Regions from separate parts of the Homo sapiens genome. Here region 2 is linked to region 1. Evidence: promoter capture Hi-C in 16 types of primary human blood cells and fetal thymus (Javierre and others, 2016). All regions are on one chromosome and are shown on one strand. The core of a region is centred on a gene start or on the middle of the fragment in contact, and the rest is flanking DNA. Distances in the headings are between cores, read along the strand shown.

Region 1 (2,700 bases), core at 80-2,579:
GAGACAAAAACAAACAAAAACAACAACCAAAAAACAAAGTAACAAAACAAACACTAATTAATCAGTCCGATTGCTTATTCAGGGTTTGTTCGCTTGTCCAGGAAACTGGCAACGAGTGTCTTGAAAACAAGAGAAGGGGCAAGTGCCCGTTAGCACCCTTTAGCCTTTCTCCAGAGTCAGACAATCTGGATAAGGCTGAGGGTGCTCTGGGAGGGTTCCCAGGGAGTCAGCGCGCTTTCGAATCCCCATCCCCCAGTCCTGAGCTGTGGGGCTCTGACCCCAGGTCCTCCATCCCTGGACTGACACACCCAGTCTTCCCCCAAATCCCCACGGCACCGTCCCCTTGGTCCCCTTGCCTCTGGAGCGCTCGCGTGTCCCCGAGGGACACACTCTCCCTGCGGTGGATGACCCTGCGCCCACTCTGTCGCAGAACCCCGTTGTTTCTAATGCCCTTCCTCCGCAGCAGCACCCCTTCAACACCCATCACCACCCTCTCTCCCCAGTTGCAGGAGGAAGTCGCTCTGCTTCCTCTGTTCTCACCGCCAGCCCGAGCTTGGGCGCCCGGGGCTTTCTGGGTGGGGTTCTTTTTTGTGTACACAGTGTGTGTATGTGTGCGCGCGAGAGTGTGTGTGCCAAACGCTCATCGCATCCTTCCGCCTAGGCGGCCTCAGGTGCTCGCGGGAGGGGATCAGGATCTCGTCGTGCCCTTGTCCCCGGCTCTTTGTGCCGAGTCCAGAGCAGCGCGAGGTCAGCTCTTTAGCTCACACCCCCGGCCCCGACCCTGGGTGGGAGCCTCCGCCTCCGCCTCCTCCGCAGCCGTCCGAGCCCGGCTTTTGCCCGTCTGCTTCCATCCCGGCGCACGCCTCCGCCGTGCCGGGCGGCCGGAGAGCTGTCAGCCGGCGCCTGGGACTCGGACCCCGGCCGGCGGCTGCCGGTGCGAAAACTTACTGGAGCGGAGAAAGACAGCGCGCGGCGCACCAAGCGGCCGCACTGGCGCCGTTCCTGCCCCTTCCCGCGTCGCTCCCGCCTGGAGCGCGTCCCCCGGGATGCCCCGTCCCCCGGCCACTCACCAGCACCACGGAGCCCCGCACGGCCTCAGACACGCTCTGCCGGAGCTCAGCCGCCGTGCCAGGCTTGCTGAGCCGTTTGGTGAATTTGCGCACTTCGGCCATGGCAGCGGCGGCGGGCGGGTCTCGGCGGGCGGGCGGACCTCGGCGGGCGGGTGGACTCACTGCCCCGGCCCGCGGCGGCCGCGGCCGCTGCTGCTCCCTCTGTTTACTCGCCGGCCGGCCGGCCACATCGCAGCTCGGCGGCGGCGCGGCTCACGCTGCTCCTCCCTCCCACCTCCCACCCGCTGCTCCTCCCTCGTTCCCTCCTTCCCTCCTTTTCTCGCTCGCTTCGCCCGCTCACTGTCCTGCCCCACGGCGTCGGCGGCGGCAGCTCCCTCCCCTAGAGGGCCCGAGCTCCGATCGCCACCAGCCGAAGCAGGAGGGTGTGTCTGATGGGGAAGGGTGTGTAGAGGGGGAGGGAGAACTGGAGGTGGGGGCGAGGGTCACGAGGGAAGAGGGGGGAAGTGGCTACCGCTCGGGCTCCGCCCGCAGCTGATGTTGCTGGTGCAGCCGCATCCGGGAGGGGAGATCTGGGCTGCTTCTTTTTTTCCGCTTGAGTGGGGAGGGCGGGGTGGGGTGGGGGAACAGAGAGGGGTGATGAAATGTCTCCAAGAGTGGGGCGTGCTCCTCTCCCGCCCTAGTGCTCCTCTCCCGCCTCCGAGCTGCAGTGCCCGCAGGAGGGCTGGAGAACTCTCACGTCCCTCCACCCCGCAAGCCCCCAGGGCCCAGGCGGCTAGGGGCTGGAAAACAACGTGGAGCAGCCGCCTTTTGTGTGCTCCTTGGGGAAGGGTCGCACCAATGTCGAAGGACAGAGAGCTGCTTTCCAGCGTGAGCGGCTCGACTGGGTCCCCCTCCTCGCCCACACCGTTTTCCTACTCAGTTGGCTCACCTAACAGGGGGCAACACTGGGGAGAGAGCATGCTTCTGGAAGTGGGAACTTATTGTGGCGGCACCCCTCGCTCCGTCCCCCACGGGGGAGAGCTGGGTGGTGGAGCCTGAGCCTGTGGCAGGTGATCCCTAGGTCAGCACTGACTGCACCAGGAGTGGGGTGGGGGTGGGCATTAGGATGAGCCTGTGGCAGGTGATCCCTAGGTCAGCACTGACTGCACCAGGAGTGGGGTGGGGGTGGGCATTAGGAAGGCCATCTCCCTGGGTTTGGTGGACTTACCAATCTTATAGTAGCTTTTACAAGTGCCCTGCACTCACCTCTCCATTTCCTATTCATCTCCTTACTCTTTTCAGCTTCCAAGAAATTGTTTTTCCAAGAATCAAAGAACATCTCATAACAGGGTATAAAACGAACATGCTTAAGACAGAAATAGGGACGGGAATCTTGAAGTACTAGTGACCCTGTCAGACCTCCTGAAGTGCAGAGTGAAAGGCTCCACTGATGGTGGCAGTTTTCTATCTGGTTATTTCATTTGTTGAGAGTTTGAAAATGGCCCTCAGTCTGGGGGACCGAGCAGCCCTTCTGAAAGCAGTCCTACCACCACCCATCGGGCACTTTCCCCACCCTCAAAGACCAAACAGTCTTTTAGGGGACTTTATTATGGAAACAAGGGCATGCGTGGTGATGGTTTCTTTGAACCCA
Region 2 (2,700 bases), core at 171-2,670, 150 kb before region 1:
AATTTTAGAACATTTCCATTGTTTCAAAAAGATCACTCCCCTTTCTCATTCCCAGCCTCACAATGAAAAAGTGAGTTAATATTTGTAAAGCACTTAGGACAGTGCCTGATATCTACCAAGAGACTATATAAATGTTTGTTAAATAAATTAGAGGTATCAGAATAGGAGGAAGGAATACAATGTACATCATGAGATCTAATGGCTTTCTTAGTTATTGGCACGATGAAACATGGAGTTGTGTTGCATTTTAATATAGAACAAACCTAATACTTCATAAAGGGATCTGTAGCCTATTTATTAAAGGTATTCTGCAGCCTATTTTATATTAGTATCTAATTCAATTTTCCTTTATAAGCCTCTTTGAAAAGCACAGGCCAGGTTTCCATAGAAAATCTCGAGGTCTGAAGCAATTAACTTAATTACTTAGAGAAGAGGGGAAAAAGGAAAAAAAAAATCTGTATAACTGAAGTGAAAGCAAGCAAGATTTTCACCTTTGAGTTCTTACATTATGGTCACACCGTTTTTACTTTTCAAAGCACTCTCACGTCCATTATCCCATTTCCCCCTCCAATAATCCTGCTAGATAACTGCTTTTACCTTCTTTTTAAAATCATAGCAATGATGATTTGCACTGAGAGGCAAACATCTGAGAAAAAACACTAAGTGCGCGCCTAGGGAAGCCAGCCAGACTGCCCGGACATCATCTACCCTGACAGGACATCTCATCACAATGGGTATTTGGGCAAACAGATCCAATCATATTTTGGGCTAAAAATTGCTGGCTACTTAAAGTATGGAAACTTTGTTTTTAAATACGAAAATCTAATAGAATTTAAGAGGTAGAAGAGAGCTTAAGGGCAAGTTAGTCCACTCCCTTCCCTTTATGGATGACACAAGTGAGTCTCAGTGACTTCCAGGGTCACATGATAACCAAACTAGAACTGCCATCCACATTTCCTGACTATTCATGCCAGCCTTTTTCAGTGTACTACCCCACATTGACTAGGTAATTTCTGCATAATGTTACTTTGCAATGGTACCAACTGAATTATAACTCTTCATTTTTACCTTGAAGCACTGAGTGAAAAATGATATGGTGTCTAGTACTGTTAGGGAAACTTCAGTAGCTGTATTGCCTTCAAGAAGTGCCTGGTGGAAAATGTCTGCTTCAGTTGTTGTAGAACCTAGGATTAAAAAAGTAAATTAAACTTTTCCCAACACGAAGATGCACATAATGGTGTTGAATGACTTTCTACCCAAAGACTTAAGACAAGAAAGGGGGCTCGGCTGGGTGCGGTGGCTCATGCCTGTAATCCCAGCACTTTGGGAGGCTGAGGCGGACAGATCATGAGGTCAGTTCAAGACCAGCCTGGCTAGCATGATGAAACCTGTCTCTACTAAAAATACAAAAAATTAGCCGGGCATGGTGGCACGTACCTACAATCCCAGCTACTCAGGAGGCTGAGGCAGGAGAATCACTTGAACCCGGGAGGCAGAGGTTGCAGCGAGCCGAGATCACGTCACTGCACTCCAACCTGGGTGACAGAGTGAGACTCCGTCTCAAAAAAAAGAGGGCTCACAGTGTCATACTGTATTTAACTCCTTCATCAAATATAGTCTGGGTTAATCAATTTCATTAGTTTTCATTACAGTTCTGTATCAACAGCTCTGCAGGACATAATTAGGTGCCCACCTCTTTGGAGACAAGGTTTCAGTGATGAACTCTGGCGATGTAACTAGGAAATAATGTGGGAGGCCTTCTAAGTCATGCCACTAATTATGTGGGTAAAAATGAGAAACCACTAAATAGAAATTCAGCTACAGATAAACAGTAGTGCCCTATGGTCAGACATTTTCAATTATGCCAATTATATGACATTTGTTTCTAAATCAGAAGGAAAACAAGGTATCTTGGAGGCAACTGAAGGAAGTGGTTCATCATATTTTTACAAGAAGCTGAAGGCTTTAAAACATGCAGATTTAAAGGTCCTGAGTCTATTAGTTCAGGGTCTAGCAAAACATTATTTTTTATTACTAGGTCTTACCACAAAGCCAGTTTTGCTGGCTTCCTTTTCTGAAACCTTCAGAGGACTGTGTGGAAACAAAACATTCTCACTCTTTGAGTTGTTATTAATATTTGCTTTTCATAGGATAGCTTCCATTTATATAACCCTCTAGCTTCCGCAGTTGGGCAAGATTTCTCTCCTTGCCCTATTTGCCTTGTCAATACTTCAACCTGTCTGAAATACACCTTTGCCAAACTAGTATTTAGGATTCACCGATTTCTGCAGTCAACTCAGCATGTTCATTCCCTAATCATTAAATGACCAAAAGTAACTAAACAAATATTACATATACTATTATATTAAGATGTCAATATTTGCATTGAAGTCTAACAGTAGGAATGAAGAATACTCAATATAAAAATATTATGAGAATAGCAATTCCATGGGAAAAATTTAGTTTCTTTAACACTAAGAAGAAAACATCATGACCTAAAATTGTTCAAAAATCCATGTGTATTTTATCATTTTATAGTCATGTATGATGAAATTGATTATATACATAGCAGAGAGATGCAAACACATGTATGGGAAATCATTTCCCATCATATTGGCAATTTAAACCAGGACTTCTTTTCTTCATACATATTTAAGGGATACAGGTGATATTTTGTTACATGCATATAATGTGTAATGA

The links. The method cuts DNA at HindIII sites, captures the fragments that hold promoters and counts their contacts. A CHiCAGO score of 5 or more calls a contact.
Region 2: a fragment that was not itself captured here is called in contact with the fragment with the promoter of DOCK11 in region 1 in 5 of 17 cell types (non-activated CD4 T cells, activated CD4 T cells, neutrophils and 2 more); the score reaches 7.6 in non-activated CD4 T cells.

What each region holds. Positions count from the first base shown.
Region 1 is chrX:118,494,444-118,497,143 of GRCh38, reverse strand. It overlaps DOCK11 (dedicator of cytokinesis 11), which reads right to left and starts at 1,329. Exons shown (of 53, transcript NM_144658.4): 1 at 1,071-1,329. The coding sequence starts at 1,172. RefSeq lists silencers at 802-861, 1,032-1,091, 1,182-1,261, 1,372-1,511 and enhancers at 541-1,519, 1,922-1,991. The HindIII fragment of the contact is 5,195 bases long and covers 1-2,700 here.
Region 2 is chrX:118,639,674-118,642,373 of GRCh38, reverse strand. DOCK11 (dedicator of cytokinesis 11) reads right to left here. Exons shown (of 53, transcript NM_144658.4): 39 at 1,069-1,184. Among named protein-coding and RNA genes, the nearest start is that of IL13RA1, 87 kb to the left of the region's middle. The HindIII fragment of the contact is 5,304 bases long and covers 1-2,700 here.